Regions from separate parts of the Homo sapiens genome. Here regions 1 and 2 are each linked to region 3. Evidence: promoter capture Hi-C in human tissues and cell types (Jung and others, 2019). All regions are on one chromosome and are shown on one strand. Each heading gives the region's core, a stretch centred on a gene start or on the middle of the fragment in contact. The rest is flanking DNA. Distances are from core to core; before and after follow the strand shown.

What was found. Contacts are between HindIII fragments. The study calls those that stand out against the background at their distance.
Region 1: a fragment that was not itself captured here is called in contact with the fragment with the promoter of GEM in region 3 in 1 of the 25 tissues and cell types used here (hippocampus).
Region 2: a fragment that was not itself captured here is called in contact with the fragment with the promoter of GEM in region 3 in 4 of the 25 tissues and cell types used here (H1 embryonic stem cells, IMR-90 fibroblasts, mesenchymal stem cells and 1 more).

The regions. Positions count from the first base shown.
Region 1 is chr8:94,431,113-94,435,268 of GRCh38, reverse strand. The region is part of intron 3 of RAD54B (RAD54 homolog B); the gene reads left to right. It overlaps FSBP (fibrinogen silencer binding protein), which reads left to right. Exons shown (of 2, transcript NM_001256141.2): 2 at 2,613-4,156. The coding sequence ends at 3,138. Among named protein-coding and RNA genes, the nearest start is that of FSBP, 3.8 kb to the left of the region's middle. RefSeq lists an enhancer at 1-469. The HindIII fragment of the contact is 5,994 bases long and covers 1-4,156 here.
Region 2 is chr8:94,045,711-94,049,867 of GRCh38, reverse strand. No RefSeq gene overlaps it. Among named protein-coding and RNA genes, the nearest start is that of PDP1, 130 kb to the right of the region's middle. The HindIII fragment of the contact is 5,525 bases long and covers 1-4,157 here.
Region 3 is chr8:94,259,749-94,263,999 of GRCh38, reverse strand. GEM (GTP binding protein overexpressed in skeletal muscle) reads left to right here and starts at 1,681. Exons shown (of 5, transcript NM_005261.4): 1 at 1,681-1,910; 2 at 3,488-3,827. The coding sequence starts at 3,497. RefSeq lists silencers at 2,370-2,439, 3,581-3,724. The HindIII fragment of the contact is 10,611 bases long and covers 1-4,251 here.

The sequences.
Region 1 (4,156 bases), core at 368-2,867, 170 kb before region 3:
CATGAATACACAGTGGATTAATTCTTGGGGCCACTGGTTAAAATGTTCACTGTGATGACAAATGATGAAATCCCAATAGCTAGATATCCAGAAAACTACGCAGTAAAATTGTTTTATACTGTGCTACTTATGCAGAATTTTCTCTCCCTTGAACCATGGAGAAAAGTGTTTTTTGCATCGCAGGTATAAAACTGTACCCTTTGGTTAGTAGGTATAGGTTTTTATAATTTGAAAACGACATGTAGAAACTGTAATTTTAGTTAGTTGCATATTTTAAAAATAACAGTGAGTAGAAGAAAAATAATATATAAATATACAAGTATCTGGTTACATTTTGACTATTTGTGTGTGTGAATATTTACAATATTCACACACAAAAAATCTTTTGGGATATGAACATTTCTCTGATAAAAATGAGTTGATTTGTACATTTCTATACCTATGGCTTAAATAATACCAATTTGTTAGGTTTTAAAGGGAAGAATATAAGAAACATGCCTTTTAAATTCTTATGTTACTGTGTCTACATTGACATTTTCTCTGTATTAGCTTATTTCTTTAATATATATATTTAATGTGCTTATATTTATTTGATTGATATCATCCTTGAATCTTAATAATCTCAGAAGTTTATAATTATTCTATAATCTTAACTATACTTCTACATAAATATGCCTGTTAATCTTACCAAACTCTTCCTTTTTAATAAGGAAAATACTAGTGTTTGCGTTAACATACTTAAAAATATATACCTGTTTTGTAAGGCTATTTATTTTCTGTAACTCACATTGACTTATGTCTTTATTTTTACCTCTTCCTAATATCAGTTTATATTTTGTGTTTTTGTAAACTGATCTTCAAAGTTCTGATTCTCAAGTCCTTCTCTGTCATTTTTGTGACCTGCTCTAAAGCTTTTTTTCTCCCTTTTTATATTGTTATGCCTTAGTTGTAATGTTTTAGCTAAAATGGAAAGGAATGTTCCAGATATGAGGCATATTTTTAATTTACTTGGTAGTATTATGTCTATGTTTATACTCTCTATTTTACATACTAATTTGAAATAGTAATTATGTGGTTTTAAAAACTTAATTTTCATATGCAATTTTAGCCTTTTCCCATTCCAGGTTTTAGCAGAGCTATTAATAGAAGCAGAGCTTGCTACTTTGAATTACATTTATAATTAATTGTTTTGTTTTTGGAAATAATAAAATGACACAAACAGAGACAAGAACAAAAATGAATTTATATAACCTACAAATAGATTTTTTATTATATACTATATATGTTTCATTTTGTCTCTTAGATAAATATCTGATATTTCTGGCAATTTAATGGCATTAGTAAGTAACGTATGGGTAGTTTTAATCTTTTTCTATGCATTCTGCTTGAACTTGTTCCAGCATTTTAATCATCCATGTAGAATGTATTCTTTTAATTATGTTTCTTATTATATGTAAAATCTTCTCTAAATAATATTAAATAAAGTATTTCCATTCATGTTCAATGATCTAATTTCCCTTTATAACTTTTATTTTTAAGTTAGGCAGAAGCATAAATTAAAAAAAACAACCTCAAGGAGCAGATATTCTTAATTCACAGCTTCACGTTATACATAAAATTATGTTTATAAAACAGAATTTTAAGGTTTATTGCATTTATAATATCATAACTTGTTATGCTGAAGCTTAAATTATGCTAAAGCTGTAGTTGTCTCCATTGGGAATGCATATTTGGTGGAAATTATGTGTAAATTTAATAAACCTTTAATATATCTGTATAGGCCATTAAAAATGTTTCATTAAAAAATCATTTAGTTTGTTTTTTTTCAGTCATTCAACACATAATGAGCACCTACTAGGTTCTAAGTACAGTACCTGCTAGGTACTGAGTATACAGTTGTGGATTAAAACCATTGCTCTTGTGAACTTTACCTGACCAGTGATTGAAAGACTTAAACAGCATCTGAGTCATATGGTTCAGAATAGGTAAAACGGAAGTTTTTCCTATCAGATAAAAGCATCTGAAATAAGAAAGTTAGGATAACCTCCAGTAGTTGAGCATATCCCAAAGCCATATACAATCTTTATGTTTTATTTTTTGGGCAAATGCAGAAATCAGTACCTCCCATAGATGGCCTTTCACTGTCCTTTTATAAGTTATGGGCCTTCATGGTTTTAAGATCAGTCCAGGAGAGCAGAAGCCTGAGGTCTAGGGCTAAGGTATGGGGATAACAAGACTGAGAATGCATTAAATGGCTCTGTACACCATTTGAAAACCTTAGGGTTGTGGGAAAGATTGGTGTCTGTTTGACAACATGAAAACTGGCTTTTCTTTTTATTTTCTTCATTGGCCTTCTATAATATTTGTAATTTCCTGCTCCTTTAAAGCACAATTTTAAAGTTAAGGATGGGGGAGATCTGTGAGTATGTATTATTGAAATCCCAATCTTAGTCACTTTAATGTATTTCAAGTGTTTAAGATTTTTTTTTATTTTGTAACTTTATAGTTTTAAAGCTTTATCATTTAATGTACATTAAATTAAAATTATGCTATAAATATACACTTTTTCTTCATTTGATTTACATATTATAATGCTTTTTTGTGTGCTATAGTGCAAACTTGGATGAGGAGGCACAGGCTGGTACCAGTTCACTACAGGTAATGTTGGATCACCATCCTGTTGCTATTACAGTGGAGGTGAAGCAAGAAGAAGACATTAAACCACCTCCTCCACTGGTTTTAAATTCTCAACAGAGTGATACTTTAGAGCAAAGAGAAGAACATGAATTAGTACATGTTATGGAAAGATCCTTGTCGCCTTCACTTTCCTCTGTTGATATGAGAATGACATCGTCTCCATCTTCTATTCCAAGGAGAGATGATTTTTTTCGGCATGAGAGTGGTGAACACTTTAGGTCACTATTAGGGTATGATCCTCAGATCCTGCAAATGTTGAAAGAGGAGCATCAGATAATTTTAGAAAATCAAAAAAATTTTGGATTGTATGTTCAGGAGAAGAGGGATGGATTGAAAAGAAGGCAGCAGCTAGAGGAAGAGCTACTAAGAGCAAAAATTGAAGTGGAGAAGCTGAAAGCAATTCGCTTACGGCATGATCTACCTGAATATAACAGTCTCTAAGTTTTTTTTTCAATCTTGCAATTTGATAATTTTGATTTTGGCCAAATTACTTTAATTTGGGAATATCCTGAAACAGAATACACGTTCTTGAAAAATGTTGTTAATCTCTATTATGGAAAAACTTTTTAGATATAATTTTCTAATTATTTTCTTTTGAGATATTAAAATTTACTGGTTGGTTGGCATGGTTATAGTTTTTATTGTCTTCTTTTTTTTTTCCCTAAGTTTAATTGTTGACCTTACAAAAGATATTTTATTCTGATCACTAAGATATACACAAATGCATATACAAACACATATTCTTTCAAAGTTCTGAGTCTTCAACATTTTTAGTTAGAACTTTGAAAGCTATAATTAGAGATTTTTAAGTCAGTCTAATTTAGGAGCTATACTAACCTAATACCAAGAAGCTTGTCTGTATGACATTGGTTTTTATGCTTTTATCTTTTGAAGGAGTAAATCCTAGGATTTTAGAGATGGAAGATATTTGGAGAACACTTTTTTTCCATCTCTGCAGTTTAGGGGTAATGAAACAGGTCCAGGGAGAACTCAATGACTTACTTAGGGTAACAAAGCTATTTATGGCAGAGCAGAGACCAGCACTTAGTTTTTCTTTGTGTAATTTCCATCCCGCTATTCGATAGAAGTAAATATCCACTAAAACATTCTCTAGATTTAAATATTAGAAGCATTTCTTTCATTAAAATTGCCTTTAAAGATTGTTAGGTTGTGAAATCAGGATAATTACATCAATTACCCCCATTCTCTCTCTATTTTTGTTCCAGCAAAATAGATAAGGTATTCCATTGAAGCTATTATATATTTTGGCTGTGTGATTTAAAGACATGTCTTAATTCATTTTGAATGTCCTGTTCTGGAAAAAATTTCTTTCACAGTAAAAATCAGAATGAACAAAATTAAAATTTTATGTATTTTATAAGTATTGTTATTTTAGTATTCATGGAAATAAAACCTCAATTCTTAAAGCATACATATTAAATTTATATTAAATCTCTAA
Region 2 (4,157 bases), core at 1,413-3,912, 220 kb after region 3:
TTCCTCCAGGGAGTAGAATAGATGTTCCCTCCTCTCTATAAAGATGTGAGAAGACAGGTTCTGCCTCAACCTCCATGTCACCTTGACCTCCTACAGGAACCTCTGCCATAAAGCAGAGGTTCTTACTCAATTTTAATTTGCTTTCCTCTAAGGGATGCTACATATCACAGAAATAGCAAGATCCAGACTCAAATAGAAATAGGTAAAACAAAAACAGAAGCATAAAGAAACAAAATGCTTCAGGCACATTCTCTACCACTGATGAAAGAATAAACACTACCAGCGTGATATGACACTAGATGGGATTCTCTTGCCTACTTTACTTTTTCTTTGGATTTTAAACATTTCAACCTTAAAGAGCATTTTCATAATGCTCTACTCTCACTATCATGGATCCTGTAGGAAAGGGGTCCAAATGGCTATATACATATATACACACATATATATACGTATATATACGTATATATATACGTATATACGTATATGTATATATATGTATACATATACGTATATGTATATATGTATATATGTGTGTATATACGTATATATGTATATATGTATATATGTATATATGTATATATGTATACATATATGTATATATGTATATATATGTATGTATATATGTATATATATATATATATATATATATATATATATATATATATATGTATTTGGGTTATGGCCTGGAACACAGTTGCTCAACTCAAATTTGGTAGAACTCCCCAATCCATGCTGAGATTTTCCCAGGCAGAAATTGAGAAGCAATTTGCATGCTCTTTCACATGTTTGTAAAAAGCATATAAAACAAAGCATAGAAGTGCATTACTCCCTGAAACTAAAATTTAACCCATTGGGGGCGAGGTGGGGGGAAATCTGAATGTTATTCCTCAAATGGGGACATATGAAAATTGTATGCAAAAAACCCATAGAACATATAGCCCTTTGGGGATGGTGAAAATGTTTTAGATAGAAGAAAATCTAGATGACCTTGGGTATGGAGATGACTTTTTAGATACAATACCAAATGCATGATCCATGAAAAAAAATGGACAAGATGGAATTTATTAAAGTTGAAAACTATCTTCTCTGTGAAAGACACCATAAAGAGAATGAGGAGGCAAGCTACAGATTGAGAGAAAATATCTGCAAAAGACATATCTGATAAGGGACTGTGTATAAAATACACAAAGAACTCTTAAAACTTAAAAATATTAACAAACAACCCCATTAAAAAATGGGCAAAAGACCTGAACAGATACCTCATCAAAGAAGATATATTAAAATATACTCAACATGATATGTCATTAGGAAAGTGCAAATTAAAGCAACAATCAGATACCACTATACTATTAGGATGTCCAAAATTCCAGAATACTGACAGCACCAAAAGGACATGGAACAACAGGAACTCTCATTCATTGCTGGCGAGAATGCAAAATGGTACGGCTATGTTGGAAGTTAGTTTGACAGTTTCTTACAAAAGGAGACATCCTCTTACCAGGTAATCTAGCAATTGTGCTCCTTCCTATTTACCCAAGTGAGCTAAAAACTTATGTCCACACAAAAACCTGTACAAGGATGTTTATAGCAGGTTTATTCATTACCATTAAAACTTGGAAGCAGCAAACAAGATGTCCTTTAGTATGTGAATGATGTGGAAATAGGAAACCAACCAAATGAGAAAAGCACAGGCTACTGTATTAGTCAGAATTCTCCAGAGAAACAGAACCAATAGGATATATATATAGAGAGATATATAAAAAGAGAATTATTATGAGGGATTGGCTCATGCAGTTGTGGAGGCTGAGAAGTCCCATAATCTGCCACGTGCAAGCTGCAGGCTTAGGAAAGTCAGTGGTGTAGTTTCGGTCCAAACTCGAAAGCCTGAGAACCAGGGGAGCCAATGGCGTAAGCCCCAATCTGAGTCCTAAGGCCTGGGAACCCCAGAGGTCACGGTAGAAGTCTTGGTCCAAGGATGAAGGCCTGAGAACCAGGAGCATTGATGTCCCAGGGGAGGAGAATATGGATGTTCCAGATCAGAGAGAACAAATTCGCCCTTCCTCCACCTTTTGTTCTATTTAGGCCCTCAACAGTTTGGATGATGACTACCTGCACTGGGGAGGATGATCTTCTTCACTCAGTGGCCAATTCAAATGCTCCTTTCTTCCAGAAGCACCCTCTCAGGTTACCCAGAAATAATGTTTTTCCAGCAATCTGGCTGTCTCTTAGCCCAGTCAAGTTGACATATACAATCAACCATCATAGCTATTTATTCTGAACTTGCTATAGCAAGGGAATCCACCACTGCCGCTTGCATTTTGGCAGAGACTCAAAGGCAGGAAAGAGTGGGGAAGCTTGATAGTGGAGAAAAGGGAAGGCTTCGGATGTGCCCTGTTGGGAGGCTGTTGGAGTTAGGAAGCTACAGGTAGGCTAACTAGAAGCAGAGCATTGTATATGATTGGTTAGGGGTGAATATTTGGCTTTCTCTAGTTGAAATTGGAAGAGGGGACAAAAATTAGGGAAGCCGTCAGTTATTAATCAAGTTCTGGCCATTTGGGGCTGATTGTTACGGAGGTTATTATTTAGCTCCTGAATTGTCACTAGAGATAACAATCTCACTTCCTGCAAGTTGGACTTATATCAGGCTGGCTTCCTGGGTTGTTTATTATAAATAAAAGGGTTGGTCTCCCAGGCAGATTGCTGCAGATTGTGAGTTAAAGTTCTAGTTTTATATATGGTCTGGCCATTGTCCATTTGCATATTCAGTCTCTCAACAAATAAACGATGTGACATCCAAACAATAGTATATAATTCAGTGCTAGAAAGAAATGTGTTATCAAGCCATAAAAAAATGAAGGCAACTTAAATGCATATTACTCAGTGAAAGATGCTAATCTGAAAAGGCTACGTAATGCATGCTGCCAACTATATGACATTCCGGAAAGTGAAAACTATGGAGACAGTAAAAAGATCAGTGGCTGCCAGAGGTTAGAGAGGAAGAAGGGATGAATAGGCAGAGGTCTGGAGGATTTTTAGGGCAGTGAAACTATTCTGTATGCTACTGTAATAGATACACGTCATCTCTTGTGCAAACCCATGGAGTGTATAACACCAACAGTGAACCCTAATGTGAACGCTGGAGTCTGGGTGATAATGACATGTCAATGTCAGTTCACTGACTGTAACAAATGTGTCATGGTGATGGGGTTGTGTGATGGAGGCAGGGTGTACGTGGGAATTCTTTGTACTTTCTGCTCCATTTTACTGACAACCTGAAACTACTCTAAAAGCAGTCAATTTAAAAGGAAAAAAGTTTTAGAACTAGATAGTGTTAATGGTTGCATAACATTGCAAATGTACTAAATGCTAACATAACAAATTACATATTTTAAAATGGTTAATTTCACGTGAATTCTGCCTCCATTTTTTTAGAAAATGGGCATATACTTAAAAAAACACACACATAGTGATCATCCTAGCTTCTGACCAACCACCCTGGTTCATTACTGGGACTCAGAGGAGACCAGGCCTTCTTGGAAAGTGAAGGAAAGGTGAGGCCCCATCTGGGAAAGGATCCATGCCTAAGCGGGGAGAAGGGAAGGCAGGTTTGGTCCAGTGGTCATGAGGAGGGTGATTCAGAAAGTGAACAAGTTTCTGATGCCCACATCTCCCAGGTGTAGCTGTGTGTCTCTTTGTCCTCTTGTCCTACTTCTTGGCCTTTGTCACCCTGGCCTTGAGTCACTGTGCCCTGACAGCAGGATGTCGTGTATGCTCCCAGATAGTGCCAGAGTCCAAGGGATGGATCTACTCACACAGCATGGCGGGTGCCTCTCACCACTTACACCAAACCCTGCCCTGGCTTGTCCTCTCTACACTTCCTGCCAGCCAACTACCTCCACACCATGCCAGCTGCTTCCCAGGGCAGGTTCACAAAACTTTGCCAAAGGCTTTAGTAAGAATGGAATGACACAACTCAACGAGGAATGCAGCTGGGCACCAGGTCTCCCCTTCCTGAAGTCCTGGGGCAAATCTACCCAAGTCAGGTTCCCAGCGGAGGCCTCCCTCTGAGCCTAGTCCATCACCATGCTGTTGGTTCTCTTCCTTCAGAACATACGGCAGTGCTTCTCAAAGGGAGGTCTCCAAACCATCAGCGTCAG
Region 3 (4,251 bases), core at 432-2,931:
TTTTAGAATGGAGTCAGTGATATACTCTTGGAGATGATCTCCCCCACCCCCCATCTCCTCTCCTTTTCCTTTCCCCACATCTGTAGCCACTTCCTGTCAGCGAAACCCAGAAGAAAAACTTGACAGAAGCAAAGGGCATCCAGAGAATTATGATCCCCAGGTTGTAGTTCCAGTTCTGTCATGTCCTAAGCGGTCATCTCCTCTCTGGGTCTCAGGTTTCTTATGTATAAGATAAGTAGGAGATTGGGGCCACAACACCTGAGACTAAAGGAATTCTAAGTTTTCATTACTCTATGGATTCCACCTTTGCTAGCTTGGGACCTGGCAGGTCTCAGCAGCTGGTCATGTAGCTAATTCTCAAAGCAGATAAATGCCTGCAGGATAACTGTGAATTGACTCTAATCACAGCAGAGTCCAGCTGCTTCAATAGATGCTGGTGCCTTTGGCTGCTTCCCGGAGCCACCAGCCAACCCAGAGTTGAAGCTGGCTGGAAAAGCAGATATGTTGGAGAGGCCAGCATCATCTCTAAACACAGCATCTGGGAAATACCCATGTCCCCAGAAAGAGGTCATTGAAATCCTTCACTTGGTGGTGCAGTGCAGAGACTCAGGAAAACCAGGCTTTGAGTCCTGACCCTGCCACTTATACCAGCGGTGTGACCTTGGGCAAATTCTCTGGCCCTATGTTATCTTCCTCCTCCATACAATGAGGGTAGAAATAGAGCCACCTTGCAGAAGTATAGTAAGGATTAAGGTCCCAGGAGGCCTAACAGTACCTACTAAGCAGAGGTCCTCAGAGGTACTTAATAAATGGTAGTAGTAGTTATTATCCTGTGCCCTTTGTTCACAGGAGTCTCTTACAGGGGTGTTGGTCTCAGTGCTCCTCCCCATGGCCAGGCTGTATTGGCTCATGCCCAAGGCGTAGCCTTGCCAGGGAGCCTGGTACAGAGATGCTGCTGATTGGGATGCTGATTAAATTCCCTGATTGAGGAGCCTCAGCATTCTGGCCCAGAGCAGGAGGGCCAGCAATATTTAGCACAATCTGCTTGGATCCTCAATTAAATTGTTTTTCCAAACTGCCCTTTTCAAGGTCTTGTCCTCTTTCCTCACCTCTTTCTGGCCCCTTCTCTCTGGGTCCTTGCCAGAGAAGGGAAACAAAGCCTTGTGGGGCTCCATCTGCTTCCCCCTATCCAGAAGAAGGTGACAAGGCTGTCTTCGTTGCAGAAGATGTGGTTAAAACAAGCCTTGGCTATTCAAGGTGGCTGCAGTCTCATCCTGGAGGCTAAAGTCTCTGCGCATTCCAGGTTGATCTCTGTTTTCTTGGCAAAACTGAGTTCTCAACTCAAACCTGCCTCTCCCTTCCATCCTTTATCCCGACAGCTCGCAAGTGCTTTGCTGGGAAGGACGATTAAGTGTCACTTAGTGTATTTTTCCATTTTCCTGTGTTCATCTGGTAAAAAGAAAATAAAACAAAATAAAGGAGGCCCAGGATTGAACTGTCATTATTTTTTAAATGGAGAGAGAAGGGGTCACATGACTGCGAGTAACTGATTTAGCCAAGTGGCTGCAACTCCGAGTTTGCTGCAGAGCCGCCCCCTCCCGGCGGGGGCGCTGACGTCACGGAAAAGCCCCGCGGCGGGTCGGCTGGGCTGGTTATAAACCGCCCGGCCGCGGCGGCTGCAGGCGGCGGGCAAGGACGGCGGGCACAGCGCAGCACTCCCCGCTCGTTGGCCCGGGTATCCCAGCGCGGACCCACGCGATACGCTGACGCCCCGACGCCGATCCGGCCGAGCCAAGTAAGGGGGACGGCCCGAGACGGAGAAGGGAGAGAGTGGGAGTTTCCCAGCCCGCAGAACTTTCGAAGTTGAGAAAAGAACCCCTGGAACGTGCGCTCAGCACTGGGATTTTCTGGTAGGGGTCAGAGCTTCAAGTGCAAAGGATGTCGCTTCTCATCAGCAGGTTCCTTAGTTCAATTCGGTAGAAGGGTCACCTCCCTCTACAGATCGAGTGGTCAGAGAGGGCAGCCCTTAATGATGCTTTATGTATTTGTTGTTTGAATGTAAGTCTGCCAACTGAGGTGCTGCTTTTGAGACTAAAAAACCGGCTGGTCGTCCTGGTTAGTGGCGAGATGTTGGGGTACGGAGTGTGGGGGTGAGGGTGGGAGAGGAGTGTTTGTGCATCTTGCTGATTGCAACGTAAGTACTTATACTTTATCACCAGTAGCCGGAAAAACAGACCTCCCGGCTAGGGGAGGCAGTCTGCAAAGGGAAAGTTGTAGAGAAGTTGTTGAATATCATTTAGGGGAGTCTTCAGCCTTCTGATTTGCTTCAAGAAGGGGATCTGAGAATGGTGGCTCAGGCCTGTGATCTCAGCACTTTCGGAAGCCGAGGCAGGAGGATCACTTGACCCCAGGAGTTCGAGACCAGCCTGGGCAACATAGTGAGGCCACTGTCTCTACCAAAAAATAAAAATAAAAATAAAAAAACTAGTGGACGTGGTAGTGCAGGTCTGTAGTCCCAGCTACTTGGGAGGCTGAAGTGGAGGATCTCTTGAGCCTGGCAGTTGGAGGCTAGCTACAGTGAGCTATGATCGTGCCACTGCACTCCAGCCTGGGTGACAGAGCAAGACCCTGACTCAAAAAAGGAATCTGAGTTGAATTAAAGAACTCTTGAGAATGGATGTGGTTTTTTAAGAATGAGGCACTTTCTCTGCAAATTTCATAGGTCTGAACATGAGCAGGTCATTTCTCTGCCAGGGTGTCTAGGTTTGGAGCCGGGATGTTTTAAAAGTGGTATCTGTGGGTAAGAGGGCACAGCTGAGGCATAAACTTTAAACAGAAAATTTCCCCCCTACCCCCAATAATGGCAGGTGGATGCTCTCCAGGCAGCTGGAGAGCATCAAGGCAACTTTACTAAACATGGAAGTTCCAATAAGTGCCTGTCCAGTCCAGCCAGGGTTGCAGTGGGCAGGGGAGGGGAGGGTGATGTCATTGCCACGTGTTTCCCACTGAGGCACAAAACCTGCTGGACACTGGTGCAATTAAGAGCCAAGTTTAGACAAGAGCAGCTAACCTGACCAGCTGGTCCCCAGCAACATTAACTTGTTGCTTTTCAAGCCATCTTTGGAGTCTGCTGGTTCTTTCCAGCTGCCTTTGTGCCAGCTCTGAGTGCAGCTCTTCTTTCATCCAAGTCTGCTTTGAGGAAGGGGGAAGCCCATGGGCAGTGGGTGATGTTAACCGTATTTGTTTTCCCATGCAAATGATAGTCTGCCTGAGGAGCTGGTTACTGACAGTGTGGGCAGCATGTGTGTGTCCAGTTGAAAGCCTGTCTTGTTGGGGTTTGGGGGACTGTTTAATTGGTGGTCTTTATGTTAGGGATACTTGCTTCTCATCTCATCTAATAAAATATTACTGATGACTGACCATGTATTTGAGCGGAGCTCTCACTCATGCTTACTAATGCTGCCATCTTGGCTGCTTTGCTCCCCAGGACTCAACGATGACTCTGAATAATGTCACCATGCGCCAGGGCACTGTGGGCATGCAGCCACAGCAGCAGCGCTGGAGCATCCCAGCTGATGGCAGGCATCTGATGGTCCAGAAAGAGCCCCACCAGTACAGCCACCGCAACCGCCATTCTGCTACCCCTGAGGACCACTGCCGCCGAAGCTGGTCCTCTGACTCCACAGACTCAGTCATCTCCTCTGAGTCAGGGAACACCTACTACCGAGTGGTGCTCATAGGGGAGCAGGGGGTGGGCAAGTCCACTCTGGCCAACATCTTTGCAGGTGTGCATGACAGCATGGACAGCGACTGCGAGGTGCTGGGAGGTAGGTGTCCCAGCCCCAGTGGGCTTCTTTCCACCAGGGGTGGCCCAGGAAGAAAGAGTGAGGGTGGGTGACTTATTTACCCACAGAGTTGGGAGCTGAAGTTAGGCATTTTGGACAATTGATGGGGGAGCTGAGTCTCTAGAAAAGCCCAAGCACAGGCTTTCGGGCAAGAAAATGAAAATGCTTGTAGACAGGACCAAAATCTGTTGATCCTGGGCCAGAAAGGGAATTCTTCAGATTCCAATTCTAAATGGGTTGGGGAAGGCTGATTAGAGAGGGCAGAGCCAGAGGGTCAGCGCCCCACTTGACTTCTGCTGACTCTGACTTGAACATTCTTCCCGGAACTCAGTATAGACACAGCCTTTTTCCATGGTTATACCTAAAACAAGCCAGTTGGAAAAGCTGTTAGGATGGCTTGATCAGT